Regions from separate parts of the Homo sapiens genome. Here regions 1, 2, 4, 5 and 6 are each linked to region 3. The links are contacts of gene promoters, found by promoter capture Hi-C in blood cells and fetal thymus (Javierre and others, 2016). All regions are on one chromosome and are shown on one strand. The core of a region is centred on a gene start or on the middle of the fragment in contact, and the rest is flanking DNA. Distances in the headings are between cores, read along the strand shown.

The links. Contacts are between HindIII fragments. The CHiCAGO score rates a contact against its expected background, and 5 or more counts as called.
Region 1: a fragment that was not itself captured here is called in contact with the fragment with the promoter of ASB9 in region 3 in 1 of 17 cell types (total B cells); the score reaches 5.9 in total B cells.
Region 2: a contact is called between the fragment with the promoter of GEMIN8 here and the fragment with the promoter of ASB9 in region 3, in 1 of 17 cell types (endothelial precursors). The highest score is 5.6, in endothelial precursors.
Region 4: a fragment that was not itself captured here is called in contact with the fragment with the promoter of ASB9 in region 3 in 2 of 17 cell types (naive B cells and non-activated CD4 T cells); the score reaches 6.2 in naive B cells.
Region 5: a fragment that was not itself captured here is called in contact with the fragment with the promoter of ASB9 in region 3 in 2 of 17 cell types (non-activated CD4 T cells and total CD4 T cells); the score reaches 5.3 in non-activated CD4 T cells.
Region 6: a contact is called between a fragment that was not itself captured here and the fragment with the promoter of ASB9 in region 3, in 1 of 17 cell types (non-activated CD4 T cells). The highest score is 5.9, in non-activated CD4 T cells.

The regions. Positions count from the first base shown.
Region 1 is chrX:14,063,715-14,068,673 of GRCh38, reverse strand. No RefSeq gene overlaps it. Among named protein-coding and RNA genes, the nearest start is that of GEMIN8, 36 kb to the right of the region's middle. The HindIII fragment of the contact is 3,773 bases long and covers 1,681-4,959 here.
Region 2 is chrX:14,027,818-14,032,774 of GRCh38, reverse strand. It overlaps GEMIN8 (gem nuclear organelle associated protein 8), which reads left to right and starts at 2,883. Exons shown (of 5, transcript NM_001042479.2): 1 at 2,883-2,998. RefSeq lists silencers at 2,543-2,682, 2,717-2,916 and enhancers at 2,293-2,793, 2,794-3,294. The HindIII fragment of the contact is 15,884 bases long and covers 1-4,957 here.
Region 3 is chrX:15,268,499-15,273,122 of GRCh38, reverse strand. ASB9 (ankyrin repeat and SOCS box containing 9) reads left to right here and starts at 3,040. Exons shown (of 7, transcript NM_001031739.3): 1 at 3,040-3,342. The coding sequence starts at 3,249. The HindIII fragment of the contact is 7,265 bases long and covers 1-4,624 here.
Region 4 is chrX:14,044,980-14,049,388 of GRCh38, reverse strand. No RefSeq gene overlaps it. Among named protein-coding and RNA genes, the nearest start is that of GEMIN8, 17 kb to the right of the region's middle. The HindIII fragment of the contact is 2,283 bases long and covers 1,033-3,315 here.
Region 5 is chrX:14,097,754-14,102,059 of GRCh38, reverse strand. No RefSeq gene overlaps it. Among named protein-coding and RNA genes, the nearest start is that of GEMIN8, 70 kb to the right of the region's middle. The HindIII fragment of the contact is 7,329 bases long and covers 1-4,306 here.
Region 6 is chrX:14,080,055-14,084,719 of GRCh38, reverse strand. No RefSeq gene overlaps it. Among named protein-coding and RNA genes, the nearest start is that of GEMIN8, 52 kb to the right of the region's middle. The HindIII fragment of the contact is 3,365 bases long and covers 1,379-4,665 here.

The DNA of each region.
Region 1 (4,959 bases), core at 2,318-4,817, 1.2 Mb after region 3:
ACTAGTATGCTTCTAAGAAGAGGAAAACTTGATATGTTGTCATTCCACCCTGAATGTGTCCAATCTTATTTGATCTTTGAAGAACAGGGAAATATGGTCACAGACACAGAGAGGTAATATGGTCACGTGAAAACAGAGGCAGAGATGGAGATCAGAGTTATGCTACCACAAACCCAGGAAGGCCTGGGGCCCAGAAGCTAGAAAGAGACCAGGAAGGATTCTTTTCTAGAGCCTTTAGAGAAAGCATGGCCCCACGAACAACTTGATTTAAGATTCGTAGTCTCTAAAATTATGCAAGATTGGATTTGCATTGTTTTAAGCCGCTAGGTTTGTAGCATTTTGCTAGTGTACACACAGGAATCTAATACTCATGTTTACAATCCATCTTTCACCCCTGCCCTCAACACATACACCACAAACAAACCAAGGGCAAGGACCGGTCCTGTATCTCCAACACTTAGCACAATGCCTAACACATAGTTGGTACACAATATTTATCGGAAAGAAATTATTGTAGCATGCTTTGGCTCTGTACCTGAGAAGATGTGGATGTCACTTTCTGCACTATCCACCCCTCCCTCTTGCCTGTCTTCATGTCCCTTGACTCTTCACAAATTTGTCTCAAGACCTTTGCTGGAGAGCTTCCCATGACTGCCTCTCACTGCCTCTTTATAGCTTAGAGCTGTGCTGCCCAGGTCAGTGGTGACTAGCCACACATGGCTGTTGAGCACTTAAAATATGCCTAGTACATCTGAGGAACTGAATTTTTAATTTTATTCCATTTAAATTTAAATTTAAATATAAAAATAAATGCTCAATTCAGTTACCAGAAAAATTATAAGTGTGCCTCAAACATGTGAATCTCCTTTTTCAACTGTAATTTTAATGAAATCTAAATATGAGCTAAGTATGTTCAATAAAAATTTAGCATCCAAATCAAGATGTGCATTGAGTGTAAAATACACACTGAGTTTTGAGGATTCGGTATGAAAAAAATGTAAGAGATCTTGAAAATGTTTATATTGATTATATTTTGAAATAATATTTTAAATATATTGGGTTAAGTAAAATATATTATTAAAATTAAGTTCACCTGTTTGTCTTTAGTTTTTAATGTGGCTACTAGAAAATTTAAAATTACAGATGTAGTTCACATCGTATTTCTATTGGACAGCGCTGGCTTAGAAGTTAAGAACTCAGCATGTAGTCAATCAGAGCCTGGTTTCAGTCTCTACTTACCAGGTTTATGAATTTGAGCAAATGTCACAACTTTCTGTTTTTTTGTATAAATATAAGGGGTACAAGTGCAATTTTGTTACAAGGATATATTGCCTAATGGTGAAGTCTAGGCTTTTAGTGTAACCATCACCCAAATAATATACATTGTACCCATTAAGTAATTTCTCATCTCTCACCTCCCTCCCATTCTTCTCACGGTTCAGTCTCCAATGTCTATTATTCCACACTCTATGTCCTGTGTACACATTATTTAGCTCCCACTTATAAGACAGAAGATGCAGTATTTGACTTTCTATTTCCGAGTTGTTTTACTTAAGATAATGGCCTCTAGTTCCATCCATGTTGCAGCAAAAGACATGATTGCATTCTTTATGGCACAAATGGCACGACTTTCTGAGTGTCAGTTTTGTCATCTATGGCTTGCAGGGTCTTTGCTAAGCTTAAAAGAGATAAATAAGGCAATGTGTACAGTGAGTGGCAGGGAAGAGCTTAAAAATGGTAATTCTTCTTAAAATTTTATTATCATTATTACTTTTCCTGATGTGAGCATTAAAATGTTTCCTCATGCTCTGACCTGCTATAGCAATCTCTCTATTTAAAATTATCTCATCTTGGCCGGGCGCGGTGGCTCACGGCTGTAATCCCAGCACTTTGAGGGGCTGAGGCAGGCGGATCACTTGAGGTCAGGAGTTCGAGAACAGCCTGGCCAACATGGTAAGACCCCATCTCTACTAAAAATACAAAAATTAGCAGGCAGTAGTAGCGCATGCCTGTAATCCCAGCTACTCAGGAGGCTGAGGCAGGACAGTCGCTTGAACCCAAGAGGCAGAGGTTGCAGTGAGCGGAGATCGCACCACTGCACTCCAACCTGGGCAACAGAGCAAGACTCCAAGAAAAAAAAAAAAAAAATATATATATATATATATATATACACATATCTATATATCTCATCTTGACCCAGGGCTGGCTATACAATTTGCAGAGCTCAGTGCAAAATAAAAATGAGGCTCCTTGCTGGTGTGGGCGGGGGGGGGGGGGCGGGCGGCGGGGGTGAGACAGGAAAAAGTGCACTTAACGTTATTATAATATGAAACTTTTTTTTCCCTTCTTCACTGTTTCTCTCAATCCGTGGTGGTAACTTTTATTTGCTATTTCACGCCAGGTTCAGGCACAGGGTAATGAATAAGGTGAGTTACAGCCCCTCTCAGGCTCCAGGGCGTGGGTAGGGATGGGGGGCGTCTAGGTTGGCAGTGTCTCAAGTGTCCTTCTGGCGGGGATCCATCTCCCCTTCCCAGTCGACCGTCATAGCCACCCACTGCTGAAGAGCAACCCCCTCAAGGCATGAAAAGCCAGAGGCCAGGACCCCCTCAGGCCCAGGGCTACTGATGGGTGGGCGTCCCACCCCTCCTGACGGGCCAAGGTCCGTGATGACGGCAGCCACGCCTCACCCGCGAGACATCGCGGGGCCTGCACTCAACCCAGCCCTCTGCACGCCCACGTGCTAGTGCCCCAAGCAGAGGGTGGCCGATGGGCAGGGCAGGTAGGCGCGGACACCAGGGACTGGGAGGTAGGGCTGCCCCTGCCCACCCCCATGCTCCGTCGTCTCCCCCCACCTTCGCTTACAAAACACATTGCAAGAGATAACGCTGCAGGCTTCAAGATGGCAACTGCAGAGGCTTGAATCCCAAGTGCGGGGTTCTTCGAAAGGCAGGGCCCTGTGCTGCTGCGGTGGCTGCAGGCCCCTGAAGTCGGCCCTTCCTTGACCTAGAAGTAGATACTGTCGTCACACGGCCTGCCCCTTTCAGATTCCCTTTCTAGGACCCGTGCTTCCATTGCCGGGTCCCAGCACTGTCCCTCGACTTCTGTAGCCACTTCATCCTCTCGTCCAGGGAGCAGAAATGCCTGGGAGCTCACTTCCTCCAAAAGCCAACTGCAGCCAGCAGTGACCGTAGGAATATGGAGGCCTAGCTCCCTGGCCTAGAGGCTCTGAGCCTTCATTGATCCTCCAGAGCTCCCCAAGGATCAGGCTGAGGCAGGGACTTCCCTGGCCTGTTCTCCTGCCCTCACTTCCTGAGAAACTCACGGGCTCTTAGATTCTCCTGTCAGCGTCTGCTGCCGGGGAACCTGACTTCAGACAGACTTTTCTTTCGCTGCTTTTAGATAATCGTATCATTTATTCAGCGCTGTCGTGTACCAGGCATGGCGCTGAACGTTTCATCCCATGAGGCAGCCCGTGTCTTCCTCCGTGTGCAGCACAGCAATCGATGATTCGCTTGGAATGAATAGCGCAAACGTAAGAGAGCAGTCGTAATTTACAGAGCTGAATGTTTGCATTGAGGGAGTGGTGTGACTCATCTTGGGTTAGCAAGGCGCTTCAGATAAGGAATTGCCAGTCATTAAGGTTCTTCTTTCAGTGTTATTCAGACAGTCAGAGTGCTCCCTAGCTAGGATTTAAAGAAGCTGAAGACTTCATTTGCTGCCTTTAAGCCAAAATATTAAGATAAGCATAAAGTCCTCACTTAGACATGACCATATGTGACACCAAGGAGCAGAATCATTTATTTTGCTCTAATGGAGTAAGTGAAAGAAACACCATCAAAAACAATACACTGAATGCAAAGGCACAGTGCACTCTGTCATTCTCTTAAAAAGCCACGTTTTATTCAGATGGATAATACTAGCTATCCTAGAGAGAACAGAAGGTGGGGAAAGGCCTCTCTTAAGGAGGCAATTGGATCATCAAAGAATGTCTTTGATTCGCAAGAGTTTGCTTGAATTATGGAATTATGTCTTAACACCCTTCACTCCTGTCATCATCGACAATGTCATTTTTCTCCTTTGAAGTCAAAGCCTGACTTTTCCCTTTTCAACACCAAAAGTTAGCAGCTGTTCCCACATGAAGGTGAAAATGCTGAACAAAATGCTTTTTAAATTGAGTCATAGGTATATTTTACCTAAATGATGACTACTTACAAAAGTTTTAGTTATGTTCATTTAATAAGTCTATATTTTAGCAAACTTAGAACATATAATCCCATAGAAATAGGATTCAAGGGCAAGACAATCAAAAGGCCAATTTAATCCATTAGGTAAAGAAATTTAATATGATAGTATTATTTTGACTCCAACTAATTCCCATTAATTTCTATGGGATATTTGTCCACAATGTCCACATGATATGCCCCAAATCTGGCTTCTTGGCAGTAGCACCTTGAAACAGAAGGGTCATGGGGTACGGTAGACAGATAGTCCAAGGCAAAAAAAAAATGTTTAACCATTTACATCTGTATAGGTATTATGTAGATACTTTTTAATTTTTGAATACATGCTAAATTTCCAAGGTTCAAAATTCAAAGTTACAAAAGGGCATACAGCAAAACGTCTTCTCTCAGCATGCCCATACCTACCCAATGTCTTTCTCATGTTTCTTGTTTTTCCTCCAAAGATTTTCTCTGCATGCCCAAGCAAATATGAATCCTTTTTATTTTCTTTTTATATCCATACTGTATACACTGGAATGTTTCTTGCTCTTTTCCACTTAAGGATAATGGCCCATTTTAATCAGAGGCCACATCAAATTTAATGCACTGCCAAAACAGGAGTTACTCAAAGTGACATCCACTGTACAACCAGTATGAGAATCACCAAAAGCAGATGCCTGGACCCAGCTTAGACTTACAGAATCAGAAATATATACACACTAGAATGTGTGATCTGAGG
Region 2 (4,957 bases), core at 1,634-4,133, 1.2 Mb after region 3:
CCCCACAATGAATTATGCAGCCCCAAATGCCAATAGTGCAGAAAGTGAGAGGTCATGCTTTAGAGTTCCTCATCTGACAGGATTCTTTAAAGTTTTGCTATAATCCATTTAAAATTTGAAGCATATGCCTGAGAAAAATTAAATACTGAGGAATTGCCATTTGTAAATTTCCACCAGGTGGCGCCAAATGACAAGTGAAAATCCAACCTCCTCTAGCCTCCATTTCAAAATTCAGTTTCTCTCCCTGGTTAACCCCCTGGAGTAACAATCCCCATTCTTTTCAAATAGGATTGTCGCTCCTTAGGTGCTTAGTGTTCCCCACCACCAGTATTTTTATGCAAGTGAGTTAAAGTGAGTAATGACTAAAACTCAGACTTAAAGATGAAAAGAACAGGACTACATCCTCAATCAGCTACAGAATTTCCATTCCCTGCAGCAACAAGGGTATGGGAGAATCAGCTAGTTTCTTTTCTTCTTTAGTCAACTTTTAGCTGGGCACTTGGCCATCTGAAAAAGACAATTCCAAGCTCCTGCACCCTTAGGAGGGCTAAGTAATGAAGTTCAGGCCATTAGTAGGAAGTGATCAGAAGTGCTGTGGGCCGCCTCTGGGTAGTACTCTTAAAGCAGTGGTTCTCAACTGGGGGTGACTTTGCCCCCTCCTCCCCCAGCCCAGGAGACATTTGGCAATGTCTGAGGACATTTTTGGCTGTCACAACTGGGAGACAGTACTGGCATCTTGTGAGTAGAGACCAGAGATGCTACTAAAACTCCTACAATGCACAGGACAACCCCCAAAACACAGAATTATCCAACCCCAAATGTGAATAGTGCCAAGGTGGAGAAATCCTTAGAGGGAAAGGGCATGCCCTTGGCTTTCTCTTTCCCACTGGCTGAAAGGTGCAGTGGTGCACCATCTTGGACCATGTGGGCCAAGGCAAGAAACCAGGGAGGGTGGAGCTATGAGACAGGTGGAGCTGCCATACTCTGGACTCCTTACACCCAGACTGCCATGAGATAGAAATACACTTCTCAACAGTTTGAGCCACTCCTCTTCTGGGTCTCTGTGACAGCAGCCAACTAATATTCTATCTAATGCCATAGTATACCATATATATTGTATTTTTTCATTCATAGAACCAGGAATCACTCTACCTGAACTATATCCACTCTAGGCCTGCATCCTTCTGCCTTTCCCAGGAACCCCCTAAGCTCTTTCTCCCTATCTTACCCCTCTCCATCTTTCTTTCCTGCCTCTCTAGATGCTGGCTTCTTCCTTGAGGTAGAGATTGCACCAGGCCCCATCTGACTTATCTGTCTCAATCCACACCTGACTTTTCCCATAAGACTTCACCCTCCTACCATCTCCTGCTTCTATCCATAGATATCTCATTTCCTCCCACATCCATTTTCTGAGGTGGAGGAATAATCTTTTCTAAAATAATCCCCCTCTATATACACATACTTTCTGGCCCTTACCCTGCTATACTGTCTTCATATAACTCACCACAACATACAATTCTATTTATCTGCTTATTGTCTATGTTCTACACAAAAGATTTAATTTTATGAGCCCCAAAACTGTATTGTTTACTACTGTGTATCCGGTAAATAGAATACCACGGTACAATAGAAATGCAATGCATGCCACATATATAATTTTAAATGTTCTAGTAGCCACACTAATAAAGTAAAAAGATAAAGATCAAATTTTAGTCTTTAACCTCAATAGTCCTTCTCTAAGATGTTATCACTATAAAGAAATTGAGGTATTTTACATTCTTTTTCTCATTCTTCTTCAAAATCTAGAGTGTAATTTACCCTTACAGTGTATCTCAGTTCAGACTACTACAATTCAGGTTCTCAGGGCCACATGTAGTGGTTACAATGGACAGCGCTAACATAGAATACTTGGCACATAGCCGGCATCCAGTAAATATTTGTTAAAGTTAATATTCTTCTATACCATTTTAATTCTTCTGTAGTCCAGGAATAATACAGTAATGTCACGTCATTAATACCACCCAATTGACTTAGCCATTTCCTTGTTGGGCATTTAGGTCTTTTCCAATTTTCACTTTTTAAAATAATTCTGTAATAAACATCTATCTGGTTCGTACCTGTTTTTCCTTGGAATAAATTCCCAGAAAGTATTAAATATGGTAATTGCCCCAGAAATGATATGTCACGTAAGACTTCTAATTGTTTATGCTTGGTTCTTGTTAATGACTCTTGTAATGTTAACAGGGCAGGTATTGCTGTGATGGTTATAATTACAAACATATTAGTACTAATGTTTTGTCTGCTGCAATGCATCAGGCACTCTGCATTAGGTTATGCATATCTTATAGATGAGACACACGAGGCTTGGGGAAGTTACAAACTTAGCACTGGACTCGCACTCAAACTGAGATCTGGGTTAATCTATTTTCAAAGACTGGGTGTTTTACGCTGGGACAAATTAAGAAACTAAAACTGTTTTAGTTAAGAAAGAAAACAGAAAGGAAGAAAGAAAAGGCTAAGTAAAGACAAGGGAAGGAAAACGAAGAAAGCTGAGGAAAGGACAAAAAGTTAAAGGCTGGAAACCCGGGCGGTGCAGAAGCGACCCTTATCTCGCCGGTGCAGAAGCACCGTCCGACCCCCGGCGCGGGTGCCCGCCACAGTCCCAGTGCCCCGCCCGGTGCAGCTCCCTCTCCGCCGGCCCCGCCACCCGCAGCCATCCCACGCCTGCCGCCCCGGCGCTCCACTCGGGGTAGCCGATTAGCAGGCAGCTTCCGGCCTCCAGCACTGCACCGCCTGCGGTGCGAACGTGACGTCCGCGACACAGGGGGGGACTTCCGGCGCGCCGCGCCACGCCACGTGTTCCGCACCGGAAGCGCGCTTCCAGTCGCCCCGGCAACAGCCGCCTCCCTCGCGTCCCCCACTCCCCCTCTGTCTCTCCAAGGAAAACTAGGCCCCTGCGCGGCCAACGCCCAGGATCCGCAAGCTGCGCGCCCACGAGGTGACTTCGGGGACGGCTGGGTTTCCTTTGGGGAGTGAGGGAGGAGCTTAGACGCCCCGGGCCCTGGCTTCTTCTGATGCGCAGAGAGCCGAGGTCTTGGACGTCACGTTGCTCTCATAATTATCTTAATCCCGCGACAAAAGGTGGGGCCGGAGGCCCATGAGATTCCTAAATCATTGCAGGTTAATTGTGAGAGGGGACCAGTCCCAGAGGCTCTCAGCTCTGCAGTGCTTCCGAATCACTGGACGACTCTTTAAGAATTCTGATCCCCGGGCCCCCATCCCGGACCAATGAAATCAGAATCTCTAATAGTGGGGCCCTGGCATCGGTAGTTTTTAAAGCTGCCCAGGTGATTCTGGGGTGCCGAGAACCACCGTGTTAAGGTCTGTAGGTGAATTCGGATTTTGCCCATCCAGTCCAGTATCTGAATAGAAGATCGCCCAGGACAGCCACATACTTGAAGGATGTCTAGGATATTGCCCTCTCTGCTCAAAAATTCGGGTTTCTTTCTTTTCTCTTGCACTTTAACCTCTGCAGGAGGTCAGCTTTTGGTGGGAGTTATCTTGAGACATCTGGCGCCTACAGTTTATGGGCCTTGTGTCTCTGCCCACTTATCAGTAATGAGCTGTAATTGAACCAGTGGCCAACGAAGTGCATTTTAGCTCTGAAATCTTGATGTTCCCTTAGTACAGATCAGATGGTTCTGAACAATTTTATTTTTTTCAGGAATGATGTTTTTAAACTCGTTTGACAGGCTAGGCTGTGTATTCAGCTGTTCTTCATCTCAAATCAGAACAATATTACTTAAAAAATCTAGACTAAAGATTAGTAACGCAACACTTCTAGGATTATTTATGCTCACAGCCCCCATGAATTGTAGGATGAGAGCTACCCTTTAAAAATACTATTTTTGCTAGCATAATTTATCGGAATAACAGTCTCTTTGTAATTTCAATGTGAACAGAAACCATATATTTTTAAAGACTGCTGGTTAGTAACTTGGAATAAGCATAACTGAAAGCAAGTTCACAGGTGTATAAATCCCCTCTGTGTGTTCATTGCTGTGCTGGGGAAGTATACAAACTAAAGTTCCAGAGAGAAATGTTCATTCTGAAACTGTTCTATAGATGGTGATTAATCATTTTGGGTTTTTTTTTAAAGGATAGGGTGAGATGAGAATGACGGGGGAAAGTTTTGAACAGTTAAGGCTAGAGTGTAAATTGGAGAGTTTGCAAAGTAGGTACAGAACTTTTTTTGAACAACTTCTCTACAAGAGGAAATTCAGCCACGGAACAGCTGGACAAGTGAAAAAAGAATGTAGTTGATCAAATATCAGATGAATTGAAAAGATCTTTGAAAACATAATGTATTTAAATATTTGCTTCCTGAAAAGATTTGGTGCTTTATAGTCAGTTTTTTGAGTTACTAGGTCCTCAGAGATTTTGGGGAGTAGATGCAGGAGGAGAGAACGTTATCAGGAAACAACAGACAAGCTCAACAATTTCAGCAGCATCTAAGAGCATGAAATATTAGCTATTATTTTTATGCTGGAAGGAAAATAGGAAACTTAAAAGGAGTAGATTGTAGAATCCATGCCTACAGGTAACTGAGTAAGTGCCCAAGTAAATGAGGCATAGTGAGTGCCTATAAATTCAGAAAAGAGAGATTAACATGGAATTACCGTGAATATGTTTATAGAAAAAAGTAAATTTGAAATAAGACGCCTGAAATGTACTAGCGATCTTAACTACTTTAAACTAGCCATGGTTTTTGCTGTTATGCTCTTAATTTGCAGAACCTGCCTATTCAACCCTTATTACCTTATGGTCACACTAGGTTTTGCTTATGAAGGACATGCTTGCTGTGAAACAAACTTATCTGTTTCCTCTTTTGAACTATGTTATCATTATGTCATTCTCAGTCATCCCATTGCTTGTTGTGTTCCTGAGTCAGAGGGTA
Region 3 (4,624 bases), core at 1,791-4,290:
CTTAGCAGCTGGACTTGAGCCGGCTACATTGGGGAGGAAAGAGTCTCCTAAACCATACCTGAGGTGTGCCTTGGACATCTAAGTGAGGGGTGGGGCAGAGGCCCTGGCTAGTGTGAACACTGCTCCTGGTGAGGAATGACTGTGGCCTTATCATCTGCTGCAGGCAACGATCATTCTGTTTTCTAACCTAACCTGTGCCAATTTCACTGAACATCCAGACACACACACTGACACACACCAAGGCTGACTAGAAGTTGGTAAGATTGCTTTTCTCTTATGGCTGTTGGTAAGCCAACCAATTTCTCCATAATCAAAGCTCATACACATGTGATTCAACTTTATCCTCATACAAATCCACAAATGCATGAACTCCCCTTGTAAAGAACTGTTGTTAAACAGTTTAAAAATTCATCTCCAATCCTCCTATTCACTGGTGTTGATCAACATCATAAATAAAATGAGAAGATTAAAGGCTGATGAATTAATTCCCTCCCAGGTACTAGGGAAACAACCTGGAAATCTTCTTTATTGTCATTTTGGAACTTAATTTTGAATATGGAAAAGGCTTATCTACTTGGAATTTAATTAAAAGTAAATAAAGAAGCTGTAGTACAAAGATTTTACTGGGAAGGAAAGGAAATAGTATCCAGTTTCCCCATTGTGCCCTTCTGTTCAACTCCTCATCCAGTCTGTGTTGGGAATCAATTCCTCACTCTCTGCCAAACAAATGTATCATTCTTCAGATCTTTCCTGATGGAGTGGTAAAGAATTTGTATGCTTATGGCCTTCTCAGTTAATTCTGCAAATAGAGATAGAGGGAAGTTTAGTAGTGTTTATCCAAATTTTAAATGAGCAGCCTCTTTTCAAAAAGTGCAATTTGTATTGAGATCATTACAGATTCACATGCAGTTGTAAGAAATCACATAGAGATCTCCAGTGCACTTTGCCCAGTTTCCCTCAATGGTGACTTTTTGCAAAACTATAGTACAATATTGTAACTGGGAAATCAACATTCATACAATCTACTGATCTTATTCAATTCCCCGGTTTTACTTGTACTCATTCCTGTGTGTGTCTTCAGTTTTATACAATTTATTACATGTGCATAAGTATGCCTTTGACTTAGCATTTCCACTCTTAGGAATCTCTCCTCTAGAAATATTTGCCTATGTGCACAAAGCCACATGTACAAAAATATGAACTTTAGTCCTTTCATAGTACTAACAGAAATAATGACATTCTGCTTGCATCATTAGGAGCATAATTAAATACTTCTGGCACAATATGGAATGCTATGCAACAGTGAATAAAGACAGGAGCATACCTATAAAAGCTGATATGGAAAGCTCTCACAGACAAAATAAGTGTAAAAAGCATAGAATAATAGAATAATATAGGGGCCGGGTGCGGTGGCTCACGCCTGTAATCCTAGCACTTTGGGAGGCCAAGGAAGGGGGATCACGTGAGATCAGGAGTTTGAGGCCAGCCTGGCCAACATGGTGAAACCCTGTTTCTACTAAAAATACTAAAATTAGCTGGGCACAGTGGTGCGCTCCTGTAATCCCAGGTACTCAGGAGGCTGAGGCAGGAGAATTGCTTGAGCTCAGGAGGTGAAAGTTGCAGTGAGCCGATATGACACCATGGCACTCGAGTCCAGGTGACAAAGTGAGACCCTGTCTCAAAAAAAAAAGAATAATATAGGTACATTTATGTGGAAAATGTAAATTGATAAATGTGCATACATGTGTATGCATATAAATGCCTTTAAAAACGTGAATTACACCCCTCAAACTGTTAATAACAGCCACCAAATGTTTTAACTGAGACTCCGTAAATCTAAAACATCTAGGCCTCATCTTTGGCATTAAGACAAATCTGCAATCACTTCACAGCCAGTCTATGCTTGAGACTTAACTCAGAGCCTTCCCCCATGGGGATGAAAAATCCTCTTCTACCTGGAAGAGAGGAATGGTGGGAGTCTAGAGGTGCCTGTCAGCCTGAAGTAGCACCCAGGGGTGTGAGGCAACTGGGTTTATCTGAAAAGACATGGACACAGTACATCCAAATTTTTTTTTTTTTGAGGTGGAGTCTCGCACTGTCGCCTGGGCTAGAGTGCAGTGGCATGATCTCGGCTCACTGCAACCTCTGCCTCCTGGGTTCAAGCGATTCTCCTGCCTCAGCATCCCGAGTAGCTGGGATTACAGGCGCCTGCCACCAGGCCCAGCTAATTTTTTTGTATTTTTAGTAGAGACGGGGTTTCACTATGTTAGTCAGGCTGGTCTCAAACTCCTGACCTCGTGATCCGCCCGCCTTGGCCTCCCAAAGTGCCGGGATTACAGGCATGAGCCACCGCGCCCGGCCCCTAATGTTTTGTATAAGCAAAAACAGCAAAACGTTAACAAAATAAATTTTAGTAATTCACAATGAAAAGATAGCAGGTCTCTTCCACATCTCAGGCCACCTAGCAATCCATTTTTCCAATTGCAACCGTTCATTATTTATTTAGAAGTTAAAATGAGTGGAGGAGGGGTGAGGTAGGACATTTAGTGAAATTCTTGCAGCTGAAAGGAACAAATGGTTCTTTCCAAAGGTACATTTTTTGTAACATATAGACACATTTCCCATAAGAAACTCCCAGCACAATTGAAAGCACATGTACAGATGGCCAGGGCGTGCTGTGCATGTTACTGTGCAAGCAATTCAGCAGGGCTGCTGCAAAACCAGCTTTCTCAGCTCTGGGTGCTCGGGCTTGTCTCCATAACAAGCTACCATGTAACAAACGGATCTCAGCAGGGTGAACAACAGTTGCAGAAAGTGAGCTGTTTCCTTCACCCCCACCCTGCTCCCTTCACTCTCAAAAGTTACAAACTGAGTTTCCTTCCTGATAAACTCCAAGGCTTCCTCACTGATTGGTCTCAGTTTGGGAAAGGACGTGACATCAGCAACTTCGCAGACTTAGGGCTGGAGGGTTCTTGTGGCCTCTGGCGGGCCTCCAGCCAGTTAGGTAAAACGTGTGTGTGTGTGTGTGTGTGTGTGTGTGTACACGAGCGCATGCCTCTCTCTGATCACAGGTAGCACTCAGATTACCCTGCCTGCTCTGTGCTTTGCTGCAGACCATTTGACCAGAACGTGTGCAGCTCAGCCAGCCACAGAACTGGAATTTTTCAGGAGCAGGGGGAGCATGGAGTTTGGACTTTGCTGAGCAACTGAAGTGGAGCGCAGAGCTTGCTCGCTTAGGAGAGAGCATCATGGATGGCAAACAAGGGGGCATGGATGGGAGCAAGCCCGCGGGGCCAAGGGACTTTCCTGGCATCAGGCTTCTTTCAAACCCATTGATGGGCGGTGAGTCATAGGGGCAGTGGAATCAGCCCTGGGGAGGTTGGCTAATGTGCTTAGGAGAGGAGGGTTGGGCAGTTTCAGTGGCTCTGTGTGAGGTGTCCATGGGGCTGTTACTGGGCAGATGTCCACAGCTCACTGGTATATATTCTTTACACAGCTGTTCAAAAATGTGTATACTTCTTTCTGCAGAATCCTACAGACAAGACAAATTCAATTGTCACAAATTATTCTCCAGTGAAAATTTCAGCTCCCAGGAATCATTCTTTGTGGGTCAAATGCATTATTTATTAAATTGGAGGTTTGAAAGTTACTTATAAATAGGAAAATTTTTAATGCTAAAACTTTTTAATTTGTAAGTCTTAGGTGTTTGGCATTTAGGTGGGGCAGGGTTTATAAAGATGTTCAAACATTGAGCACTGATTGAGTCACTTTCAAAAGAGACAAAAGAGACTTTGTTTTACTTAAAACATTGGAGAATCATCTTACAGGTATTGTTCTCATCTGTCAAGTGGTGTCTGTGCTAATGTACAGAATCCCACAAATACACACTTCGGTGAGCATTCAGCAGGTGCCTGTTGGCTGAAAGGATTCTGAAAAATGGGTTTAGGCATTTGCACACAGGTTCTTATAAATAATAGTATATTGGTTAGTAATATACTGGTTAACTCTCCAGCCCCAAGTCTGCAAACTTGCTGATGTCACGTCCTTTCCCAAACTGAGACCAATCAGTGAGGAAACCTTGGAGTTTATCGGGAAGGAAACTCAAAGTTCGTAACTTTCGGAGAGCAAAGGGAGCAGCAGGGTGAGGGTGAAGGCAACAGCTCACTTTCTGCAACTGTTGTTCACCCTGTTGAGATCCTTGGGGGCTTGTGACGGAGACAAGCCCCAGCACCCAGAGCTGGGAAAGCTGGTGTTGCAGCAGCCCTGCTGAATTGCTGTATTTATTATTTATTAATTTTTTTTTCTTTTTGAGACGGAGTCTTGCTCTGTGGCCCAGGCTGGAGTGCAGTGGCGCGATCTCGACTCACTGCAACCTCCGCCTCCCGGGTTCAGGCCTGTATATATAGGCGGGGCACGGTGGTTTACGCCTGTAATCCCAGTACTTTCGGAGGCCGAGGCGGGCAGATCACGATGTCAGGATACCATCCTGGCCAACATGATGAAATTCCGTCGCTACCTAAAATACAAAAATTAGCTGGGTGTGATGGCACGTGCCTGTAATCCCAGCTACTCGGGAGGCTGAGGCAGGAGAATCACTTGAACCCGGGAGGCGGAGGTTGCAGTG
Region 4 (4,409 bases), core at 925-3,424, 1.2 Mb after region 3:
TGTTCACTGCCTGTTTGAAATTCTCTTTTGGGGAGCTTTCTCCCAGTTTAATCCTTTAATGATAATTATTAATCCATTTTACAAGTTTCTCCATTACACAAAATTTTCCAGTTGCACATTCCTTTATGCATTCTTCATGGACAAAGAAAGACTTCAAAATAGATCTTGAATGTGGCTTTAAAAATAATCCATTTATCTAATTTTTGCTTTTGTTGCCTGTGCTTTTGAGGTCTTAACTAAAAATCCTTGCCCAGCTCATTGTCATCAAATGTTTCCCAACGTTTTCTTCTAGTCGTTTCATAGTTTCTGGTTTTACATGTAAGTCTTTAATCCATTTTGAGTTAATTTTTGTGTATGGTAAAAGAGGTAGGGATCTAGTCTCATCCTTCTGCATGTGGATATCCAGCTTTTCTAGTACCATCTTTTGAAGAGACTATTCTTTCCCCAGTGTGTGTTCTTGTCACCATTATCAAAAATCAGTTTGGTCATAAGTGCATGGATTTATTTCTGGACTTTCTGTTGTGTTTCATTTGTCCATGTGTTTATTTTTATGCCAGTACCATGCTGTTTTGGTTACCACAGCTTTGTAGTATATTTTGAAGTCAGGTAGTGTGATGCCTCCAGCTTTGTTCTTTTTGCTTAAGATTGCTTTGGCTATTTGGGGGTCTTTCGTGGTTTCCCATGAATTTTTGGATCATTTTGTTCTATTTCTGTGAAAAAGATCATTGGTATTTTGATAGGGATTATATTAAATCTGTAGATTGCTTTGGGTGGTAAGACCATTTTAACAATATCAATTTTTCCCATCCATAAACATGAGCTATCTTTTCATTTATTTGTGTCATCTTCAATTTCTTTCAGTGTTTTATACTTTTGATGTAGAAATCTTTCACCTCTTCAGTTAAGTTTATTCCTATGTACATTTTATAACTATGCTAAATATAATTGTTTTCTTGATTTCTTTTTCAAATCATTTACTATCAGCATACAGAAATGCTACTGATTTTTGTATGTTTGTCAAACTAAGAAGCTTTTCCACAGCAACAGAAACAACAGAGTGAAGAGACAACCTATAGAATGGGAGAAAATATTTGCAAACTATACATCTCACAAGGGGCTAATGTCCACAATATATAAGGAACTTAAACAACAGCAAACAAAAACATAATCTGATTTTTAAATGGGCAAAAGACCTTAACAGACATTTCTCAAAAGAAAACATACAAATGACCAACAGGTATATGAAAAAATGCTCAGCATCACTAATCATCAGGGAAATGCAAATGAAAACCACAATGAAATGTGACCTCACTCTAATTAGAATGGCTATTTTCAAAAAGATGAAAGAAAACCACTCTTGGCAAGGATATGGAGAAAAGGGAACCCTTACACAGTGCTGGTGGGAATGTAAATTAGTAGAGTCATTATGGAAAACAGTATGGTGGCTCCTCAAAAAGTTAGAAATAGAACTACTGTATAATCCAGCAATCCCACTACTGGATATATATCCAAAGGAAATGAAATCAGTACATCAAAGAGATATCTGCACTCCCATGTTTACTGCAGCACTATCCATAACAGCCAAGACTTGGAATCAACCTAAATGTCCAAAAACAGATGAATGGATAAGGAAAATGTGATATATCTACACAATAGAATAGTATTCAGCCATTAAAAAGAGTGATATTCTGTCATTTGAGACAAAATGGACAAACCTGGAGGATATCATATTAATACATGAAATGAGCCAGACACAGAATGACAAATACCACATGATCTCACTGTTATGTGGAATCTAAGAAAAAGTGATCTCATAGAAGTAGAGAGAAGAACAGTGTTTATATCAGAAACTGGGGAGGGAATGGGGAAGGGCAGGATGAGGAGAGGTTGGTCAGTGTGTACAAAGTTAAAATTAGGCAACAGGGATAAGTTCTGGTGTTGTATTACACAGTAGGGTGACTATGGTCAATGGCAAAGTATTGTATATTACAAATTAGAAGAGAGATTTTTTAATGTTCTCACCACAAAGAAATGATATATGCATGGGGTGATAGATATGCTAGCTACCCTGCTTTGAACATTATACAATCTGTACATATATCAAAGCATCAAATTGTACATCACAAATATGTACAATTATAATGTATCAATTAAAGAATAAAAAGTTTTAAAAATAAAATAATCCAAATATTTTAAAATCTACATGCAGAAAAATCTACTTATAGTGGTAAAAAATTAGAAACAACTTAAATATCCCCACATAGAAGAAAGACCTAGCAAATTATGATATAGCCATTTGAAGAGACATTTTGAAGCCATACTAAAAACTATTGAATTGTGTATTTTAAATTGGTGAACTATATGGTATGTGAGTTATACCTCAATAAAGTTGTTATAAAAACATGCATAGTTTTGTGCACACTATGAGTACAGGAAAGCATATGCATAGAGAAAAATTCAAATTGTGTGATATGATTATATAATTATAATGACAAAAATTAAAAATGAATCTGATTCATGGACAGCAATCGACATAGGAATTTTCTACCTAATTTTGTGAGCATTCCATATTGTCTTCAGTAAAGATTCATTTATTAGTTTCAAGCCAGATTCAGAACACTTGGGGATGAGGACTGTGAATAGGAGGTGACTCTCCCTAAAAGCCAAATGTAGTATAATAGATTAGAAAGGTGACCGGCAAGCACACAGTAGGTTTGCACTAACTATTAGCTGAGCTTTATTTCTCACATTACATCCTGAGCCCTCTTCTCTCTTCTCCCTACAGTCTCCCTTGAAATCTCATTCTTTCCCATAACTTTGACTCCTTCTGTAGTAGTAAGTCCCAGATTTCTATTTCCAACACAGAGCTTTTTTTTCCCCGAATTTCAAACTCCTGTTGCTATCTGCTTCTTGTTAATAATAAATATAAAGTTTACAAATAAACCGTGTTAATCAGAAAACCAAGCACCACATATTCTCACTTATAAGTGGGAGCTGAACAATGAGGACACATGGACACAGGGAGGAGAACAATACACTGGGGCCTGTCGGGGCATGGGGCCGAGAGCATTAGGGAAAAGAGCTAATGCATGCTGGGCTTAATATCTAGGTGATGGGTTGATAGGTACAGCAAACCACCATGGCACATGTTTACCTATGTAACAAATCTGCACATCATGCACGTGTACCCTAGAGCTTTCAAAAATAATAATAAAATAATAAATAAATAAACTGTGCTCATTGCTGTTAAGCACTTTCCCTTAGAACCTGTACTTAAAAGAATCTCTTTGACTTTTATTTGGCTGAATACAAGCTTTTTATTTGAATACTCCAACCCAATACAATTGTCAAGCTAGTGGTGAGCTGGGGGAGGAAAGTGAAAAGTGGGAGAAGGAATTTAACAGTGTGCTGTGTAACTATCTCCTCTGAATTCCCACTTAAAATTGAAAGCATGTACATGTTCAAAGACAACTCCAGCCTCCAACCCCTTTTTCTCTTCTCCCACTGAACCACGGAATATGAACTCAGATTATCAAGAGATATATCAAACAAATTATCTCAGGGATACTGACAAAAGGCCATAAATGCCCCAGAACAGAAAGACACATATTGTGGTAATAATTTGCACTGTATTAATGCTCCAAATGCATTATCCCATTTAAACCTCCCATCAACTCCAAAGTGGGTGCTAATAATATCTGCATTTTCACATGGGATTCAGGCAAGAATACATTCAGTAAATTGCTCAAGATTACACAGTTAGGAAGTAGAGAAATAAGACTTTGAATGCAGTCAGACTCTAGAGCCTCACTCTGTAGATCAGGGTTCCTTTACCTCAGCACTAGTGACTTTTGGAGCCAGATAATTCTTTGCTATGGCTCTGTCCTGTGCATTGTAGGATGTTGAGCAGCATCCCTGGCCTCTACCCAGTAGATGTCAAAAACAACTCCCCAGCAGTAACAATCAAAAACATCTCCAACATTGACAAATGTCTCCTGGTGGGAAAAAATTGCCTCCAGTTGAGAAATACTGCTATAGATGGGGCAGGGGGAAACTTGCTTAGAGATTAAATACATTGCCAATCTATGACAACTGGTAAATAGCCCAATCTGCATTCAAACTGAGAATGACCTGACTCCATATGCCATTATGCTATATTGATCAACTTGGCAAAAATAAAACAAAATGAAACAAGAGCAAAAAAAAACAGATAGGAATAAAATAAAACAAATAAACTATTATTTTGGAATGATTTGCTTCCATTTAAAGAAAAAGAAACAGAAACAGTCCCTAAAGACTGTTTAAGAAAAAGACTGTTAATGATTGTTAAAGAAAGAGTCCCTGAAATACTTAAACTTAACTAAGAGTAAGCAGAGATGTTCTATAAAGTAGTATTTCTCAAAGTTGGC
Region 5 (4,306 bases), core at 905-3,404, 1.2 Mb after region 3:
TGAACATTTTCTTGAGGAAGGGGAGGAACCTGAAAAAATGGACACAGGCCAGGTATGTTTTGATGAGGAAAAGAAATCCAACTAAACCTGATCATTTTCCAAGAAAGGGAGGCAGACGGGAGCCCTAAGACAAATGTGCCCTGCCTCCTAATTCTGGCTACTGCTAACCCTGGTAAAAATGGCTGTCCACAGGACACAAAAGTCAGGTTTGACTTTATGGGTTGTGAGATTGGGCACGTGGTGTTTTTTACTGAACTGTTTATTCAGGGAATTCGCTTTAAATGTAACCCACAGAGCACCTGCAATTGCCTGGGGTCTCTGTGCTAAGCTGGCTGATGATGCCTAACCCACGCCATGGAAGCAAAAGGGAATGTTCTTCAAACAAAACAGAATTTTATCAGAAAACAGTAAACAAAAGACAACAAAAGTGTTGGCTCTCATCGCTCCACTTCTCCAAAGGCTGTTAACCCTGAGATACAAGAGTGATGTGGACGCTCAAACTCCAAGTACAAAGCAACTTTAGTCTGCTTTTTTCTGCAGCATCAAAGGAACTTTTTCCCTGTGCCCTCCATGTGCATAATGGGTAGCAATACCATCCTTTGAACCCCTAGAAGTTATCATAGTATCTTCCTCATAGGTTTGTTGGAGGGTTACACAAAGCATTTTACATGTTTGGCACAGCACCTGGTATATAATACGTCCTCAATAAATATTATTATAGTATCATTAGCTCTGCTCCTGTTCCTTTAAGAATGACCTTCCATCAATACAAACTAGAATAATCAATGACCCTCCAGTGCTTTAAATAATGTCAAAACTATGTCCTTTGCAGCAACATGGATGCTGCTGGAAGCCCTTATCCTAAGTGAATTAACACGGGAACAGAAAAACAAATATATCATGTTCTCACTTATAAGTGGGAGCTAAACATTAAAGACATACAGACACAAAGATAGGAACAATATACATCACAGCTTACTTGAAGGTAGAGAGTGGGAGGAGGGTAAGGACCTATCAGGTACTATACTCACTACCGGGGTGATGAAATCATTTGGTATACAAACCCCAGTGACACACAATTTACCCATGTAACAAACCTGCACATGTACCCCCTAAGCCTAAAATAAAAGTTGGAAGAAAAAAAATAAAGTGAAAATAATGCTGGGCCTTGTTAGGAGGACATGGTGAACTCCTTGTGATCTATTTCCATCCATGTGTTGAACCTCATCTCTTGTCACTTCTCACCTCAGATTCTAGTTCTATCCAGGTTGAATAACTTGCACCTAATTGAGAGGGCCATGCTTCTGAGCACCAACAGGCCTTTGTATATTCTACTTTCTCTGCATGCCACTCCTCCCTATGGAACCCTTCCCTTTTCAAATTCTTGTTCCCTTGCAATTTCCTGCCCTCCCTGCCACCATCAACTGCCATCGGCAGACAAGGGTCAGATGGTGTTACAATGTGATCCTCCAGCACCCCGTGTTTATGACTGACCTGACACTTCTTTACCTGTTGTCCTCAGCTTTTCACTTGCCTATGTTTTCTAGCCAGCTACTTCCTAAACTTTAATGAACACAAAGATCACCTGGGCTTCTGGTTGAAATGAAAATCCTGGGCCAGGCACAGTGGCTCATGCCTGCAATTGCAACACTTTGGGAGGCCGAAGGAGGAAGATCACTTAAGCCCAGAAGTTTGAGACCAGCCTGGGAAACATAGCAAAACTCCATCTCTACAAAAAAGAATAATAATTAGCCAGGCATGGTGGCATGCACCCTTTAGTCCCAGATACTCAGGAGGCTGAGGCAGGAGGACTGCTTGAGCCCAGGTTTTTGAGGCTGCAGTGAGCTGTGATCATGCCACTGCACTCAAGACTGGGTGACAGGGCGAGACCCTGTCTCAAAAAAAAAAAAATCCTGATTCAGTACATCTGGGTGGGGCCTACAAGCCTACAGTTCCAACAACCTCCCAGATGACATTGATGCTGCATTGATGATCACACTTTGAGTACCCAGGTGCTAGACAGTGAGCGCCTTGATGTCAGTGAGCTCCTTGACGACAGGAATCCTGCAACCTGAAGTCTTTATATCCCCAACACCCAGCCCATTCTCCAATAGGTAAAATCTTCTTGCTGAATGTGAGTAAAATGAGTATATGATTGAATGAACACACCGGGATGCTCTGTCCCAATTACCTCACTTCTGCAACAGCTGAAGACTTTTGCCTCAGCTTCCTGTACTTGCCCAGGACTATGTTATAAAAAACATTTACTGCTATTGTGCAGCTCACTTCATATCTCATTCTCTTGTTCCAACATGTGATTCCCCTTCTCCAATTACTATCAGTGAGAAGATGAGAGACAGGACAAACTGGGATAGACAAGCAAAAGAAAGAGACATGGAGGAGAAAAGGAAGAGCAGGTGGGGAGTATAGATAAAAGGAGAGGAATAGAGAACGTTGGAGGAAGGAAAAATAGCCACTTCCTCCCCTCATATAATTTCAGCTCACACACTCATTATCTTTACACACCTGGACTCCCTCTCACATACCTTCTCCATATGCTGACCTTGACTTTCTTCATTTCTTCATTTATCCATTCATCACGTCTATCTTGCATCAGCCACTGAGCCAGGAATATATTCATAGGCAAAAACTAATGTAAACTTGGAGTTTACAACCCAGAGAGTAAGTAGAGAAAAACACTAATGAAATAAACAGCCAATGTAAAATTACAACAATGTTAAAAGCAAAGGAAGAATATGGAGAAAGAGTCAGAGAAGGTTTCTCCGGGAAATAGATGGTTGAGCTGAGAGCTGATGGGGAGCAGCAACTAAGCAGGTGAGGAAGGGAATGGAGTTTCATGGGCAGATGGCACCATATGTATTAAGGCACTGTGGCTAGGGTGAGCATGGCACATTAAAGAAACAAAAAGGCCAGAGAGTGTGGGGTCCTGGAAAAGAGGACTGGCCAGACAAGAAACTGTGTAATAACCAGCCTCCAAGATGGCAATCAATGATCCCTACCTCCTGGTATTCACACCCTTGTGTAGTCCCCTCCCAATTGTACCAGGGTCAGTCTGTGTGACCAACAGCATACAACAGAATTGATGGTGTGGCACTCTCGAGATTAGGTTATAACAACTATGGCATCTATCTTGGCCACTTTCTCACTTTCCTCTCTTTTACAACACTCACTCAGAAAAGCAAGCTGCCATGTTTTGAACAGCCCTAAGTAGAGGTCCACATAATCAACAGTCAGCAAGGAACTACATGAGTAAGCATAGAAGCAGATTCTACAGCCCCAGTCAAACCTTGAGAAGAAAGCAGCCCTGGCCAATAGCTTAACTGCAATCTTGTGAGAGACTCTAAGCCAGATCCACCCAGCTAAGCCACAACTGGATTCCTAATATTCAGAACCATGTGAAAGAACAAATGTCTGTTGTTTTCAGCTGCTAAGTTTCAGGATCATTTGTTACACAGCAATAGATAACTAATGCAATAAACCATGAAGTACCTCTTTAGCATGTTAAAGAGTGCAGGCCAGGCACGGTGGCTCATGCCTATAATCCCTGCACTTTGGGAGGCCAAGACAGGTGGATCACGAGGTCAGGAGTTCGAGACCAGTGTTGCCAATACGGCGAAACCCCGTCTCTACTAAAAATACAAAAAAAAAAAAAATTAGCCAGGCATGGTGGCATGCCCCTGTAGTTCCAGATACTGAAGAGGCTGAGGCAGAAGAATCGCTTGAACCTGGGAGGCAGAGGTTGCAGTGAGCCGAGATCACGCCACTGCACTCCAGCCTGGGTGACAGAGCAAGACTCTGTCTCAAAAAAAAAAAAAAAATGTGCGGGCCCTTGTTAACTTTTTTCCATGAGGAAAAAACAGGATATGGCAGTTAGTATCACTTCAGAAAACAGAGCGAAGCTCCTGGAAGTTCTGGGGGAAGTGGCAAGCCTATTGTGAATACAGAGTTAACAGTAGGGCCCCTTCATTTGTTCCCTGCAGTTCGTCATCATCCATCAATCTAGGTAGAATCCAGGTACCATGGGCTCAAACAAGTTACAATAAAATATGTCTTTCAAAAGTTTAATATCTTTTAGTGGTTTTTAAAACTTACTTTAGTAGTTAATCATAAGACCCTAAGTTATAGTATTGAAATTTAAGCAAACAAAAGGATAGACTGTTGCAGTTGTTCTACACACATTGGTGTGTGGGAAAGGACTGCTAGCTAGGGGTAATGCCTGCAGATCCCTCAAGGCAGAGGGAGTACACCTGTAGCACCTAAAAGGAAGGGCACCAAGCGACTCAGT
Region 6 (4,665 bases), core at 1,812-4,311, 1.2 Mb after region 3:
ACTAAATTTTAAATTTAACTTTTTAGCATAAAATTTAAATTTAAAATTCAAAAACTAACAATACCAAACAAACATTGGCAAGGATTCAGAACAACGGGAACTCTCATACATTACTCATGGAATGTAATATGATAGATCCATATGGCAGTTTCTTAATAAAATTGAACATAAAAATGCCATGTGATCCAGCAATGCCCAGGCACTGAACAAACAAAAACATATGCCCTCAGAAACTCTCAATTAAGAGTGTTTATTGCGGCTTTATTCATAATAGCCAAAAACCACAAACACACCAGTTGCCCATCAATAGGAGAATGGAAAACAAATTATGGTATATCTATATCTACACTATGAAATACTACTCAGCAAAAAAGATGAACTATTAATGCATGCAACAACATGGGTGAATCTTATTATACTGAGTGAAAGAAATCAGACACCAAGGAGTATATGCCCAATGATTCCATGAATATGAAGTTCTAGAACAGACAAAATTAATCTATGGTGATAGAAATCAGAATAGTGTTTGCCTGGCAGAGAGGAGAATTAATTTAGAAGGGTTACAAAGAAACTTTCTGGAGTGATGGAAGATTCTATATCTTGACTGGAGTGTTGGTTATGTAGGTGTACTTATTGTCAAAACTTACCAAATTGTACACATAAGACTAGAACATTTTACTGCATATAATTATAGTTCACTAAAAAGAAAAAAGAAAACAGAGGTGTGGTAGGAACAGCTGGTAAAACATTTTTTATGACATTGTTCCTTGTGTTTTTTATTTTTGTTCAACTGTGGTAGTCCTGTGAAATGCTACTTTTAGAATGTAAGTCACAGAGGTAGGAGCTACATCTGTTTAACTTGCTTCCATAATACCAATTCCATTGCCAATTACTGAAGAGGTTGTATGGTGAGGGGAAGGAAGATAGCTAATGATTAAAGAACAGAAACTTGCCTTTAGTGTAGAAAAATAAATTAGCAGAAATTGAAATGATAAATGTCTTAGAGCATTTCAATTTAAGGTATATCACTTACGAAGCAATCTGCAAAATCCAAATATGCAAAACATCAGTTAAATAGTTTCTAATTGTGCGAGTAAGTTTACATTCCATTTCTCCTCTACTTCTGTTGAGTTCAAACGGTACCATCTGTTATTTGAGTGTAAAACAGATGTCTTTACCACCACAAGTGTCTTATGTTCTCTATCAGAAAAGGGGGAGGGAGTGTGGCAGGTAATACACTGATGATATTTTGATGTTGTTTGAGAAGTAAAACATAAAAGCCTATGGCCACTTCTTCCTAAAAATATGGCATAATTAAATGAAAATGATCAGTAAAGCTCCTGACCAACTTGTTTGGTAGTTCATGACCAACGAAGCTTAAAAATACAAAATGTTTTGACTGGGTGGGCTACGATTGCTTAAAAAGTGGGAGTGAAAATATCTGTAGTACTATTAGATATCCATGGTAGGAATTCTATCTTGAGATAAGAACAAGGTCAACACTTACTCAATAAGCCCCAAAGGCAATAGAAAACAGCCAAGCAATGCGGATTCATGACCCACGGGTAAAATTAAGTATCTATAACAGACAAAAACATCATGGGTGAAATTGAGTATCTATAACAGACAAAAACATCAGAGTACAGTACCTGAATCCTCAATCCCAGGGGTGTCAATAGAGAAGAGATGTGAGGGGAATCTGAAAACTTGCAGGTGTTTGTGGAATCTCCCCCTAAATACCAAAGAGAGCCTACTATAGAGGGATACATCAGAAACATAGAAAATGGGATTAATGAGAATGTCGATGACAGAAGCTCTAGTTGTTTTCTCAAATTTCCACTGAGAGATAAGCTATTGTAACTCAGGCAAGTGAGAACTGTTCCTTAAATGATGTGTACAGAAAAGGTAGTAGCAAAACAGCATAAGAAAACATGTATCAGTCCATTATACTAAAAAAGAAAATGGAATCATCCTGTTGAGGAAGAGTACCAGATAAACGTAAATTACTGTTATTATTTTCAATAATTCTGTCAAACTCATCTTAAAAGATCCTTCCCGCTATACAGGCACTTTGGTATATTTAAATTTTCTAGTTGTGATAAACAAGTGGTAACATGTGTCGTTATGATGGGTTATCAGTAAAACAGAGTGAAAAGCAGCACTTTGCAAATTATTTTCGGATCTGCCTTTAGAAAGTTTGCCCACAGGTAGAAAAGGATTACAGTGAATCTCAATTCAAATAGCTGATGCAAAATGTTATAGCTAAGGCAGTGTGTAACAAGACCAATAAACATTCCTATATATTTTGAACAGTAATTATACACTAAGGAGTATATTTTTAAATTAATCAGCAGAAAACAAATAGTAAGCATAAAGGTGTTTATGCATCAATAATCAAAGTAGAAGAAAACTAAAAATAACGTATGCCTAACAGAAGAATAGTTGAAAAAAGTCACAATATTTCAATTTAAATACCATTTGGCCATTAAAAACTATCATACTAAAGAAATATATAATACAAGAGATTTTGAAATACCATGAAAAATGCACAGTTAAGTAAATAAAGATATATATATACATATGTGATGCAAATGCATGTGTATATATACAGAGAAAGACATAGGGAAGTACTCAAAAATTGATATAATCAGGTTTTTTCTCTTTTTAAAAATTTAATGCTATTTTATATTATTTTATAATAAATGTTTATAAATTGGTATTTAAAGCACAATTATGACATATTTTGTTTAAAATGTTGACTGTAATAGACACAGTGCTAAATTCCTGACACAGATAATTTACCCTCTAATTTAGTCAAACCTCCGAGGAATCCAATAATAATTTAAGGCATATTCTGCTACATCTCTCACCATGCTGGCATACAAACACATGTATGTGGGAAAGAGGGCCTATTTTTTTCTACAAAACTTATACTCTACATCTTCCCCTGAAGACAGTTTTCTCCCCTTACTTGGTAATATATCACTCCATCTCTCCAGGTCAATATACATAATTTTTCTAGTAATAATTCACACTAAGAATTTGCACAATGAAAACGGCCATTTTTCTATTGTGAAACATTCAAGTTGTCTCCAAGTTTACAGCTACAAGAAAAAGCTGCCTGGATATACATATACCTTACGTTATGGTATGTTTAATTTAATAGGATACATTCCCAAAGCTGGGTTGCTAGATCAAAGACATATCCATTTTTAAAATTTTGACAAATATTAAAAGATAACTTTCCATAAAGGTTTTTTCATTCACCTTCCCATCAGCAATACACAAATGTCTGTTTCCGCAAATTGTTACTAATACTGAATGTTACCAATCTTTTAGGTTTTGCAATTGGACAAGTTAAGGTTGTTTCTCAAATCCACATTCCCTTGAATATTAAGGAGATTAAGCCACCTTTCATTTATTAACCATTTGCATTTTTCTATAAATATGAACATTCTTTTTTATTGTGTCATTTTTCCAATGTATTTGTGCAGGTTCCTTGTAAATTGAAGGTATTAACGTTTTACCTGTCATATGACTGCACATATTTGGCCCAGTTCATTTGTCTTCTCGTTGTTTTATTATACATTCTTGCATTAAGAAACATTTTTAAGTTTGTACATCTATTGATCGTTTTCTTGATTCCCTCTAAGTTTCCCAACTTGATTCCTAATCTCTACTCACCCACAAGTTTACAGAAACAAATATTTTTCTAAATTTTCTTCTAATATTCATAAAGATTTGATTTCACATTGAGCTATATTAATTCACCAGGTATATATTTTTATAAATGGTATAAGGTAGGCATTTATATTAGTTTCCTTCCAAATGGATAGCAAAATTATACCAACATAATTATTTATTTTCCTATTGAATTATAGTGCCAGATTTTCCAAGATTAACTTCTATATTATTGGATATGTGCTGAGGTTCTATGTCCCATTGTCCTGGTTATTATTTCTTATGCCATTGACATTTTGTTTTCATTACCATAGAATTATTATAAGTTTTATCTGATAACACAAGATCCTTACCCCAATTATTCTTCTGAAACATAAATTTTTTTGGCAACTATCATTTCTTCTGCCTATAATTTTTCTCATTCTAAAAATGTCTTCATTTGGATTCTGATAGGAATTATTTTGCGTTTACATATGCTTGGCAAATAATGACATTTATATAATAATGTCATTATTTAATAATTAATGAATGTCAGTATTCTAAGTCTTCCCAACAGTACATGGTGTGTTTCTTCATTTATTTAGGTATTGTTTCATGTCCTTCAACAAAATGTTAAGTTCCTTACTCTTACTATCTGATATAATGTAGATATTTTATAGCTTGAAGTAATATTGTGAATTAAATTTGTTATCCATTTCTTACAAGTTAGAAACTGATGTTTTAGACATGTCTTGTGCCTTGTTCCTACACGCATAGACAAGACCAGTTCAGCAAGAGGGCCAGTCTAGATATGTACCAGTAAGTGCCTCATCCCAGCCAGGATACCCCTCATCTATCTTGGAGTCATATGATTTACATTTGGTTACTGAGCAAAGAATAATACAGAACACTCAGGCATGAACACAAACCCCATTCATCATGCCCAATGTCTGCAGTCTGCCAGATCAGCCTGGTCTAAGTACTGTTCTGGTCATAGTTCTGTGC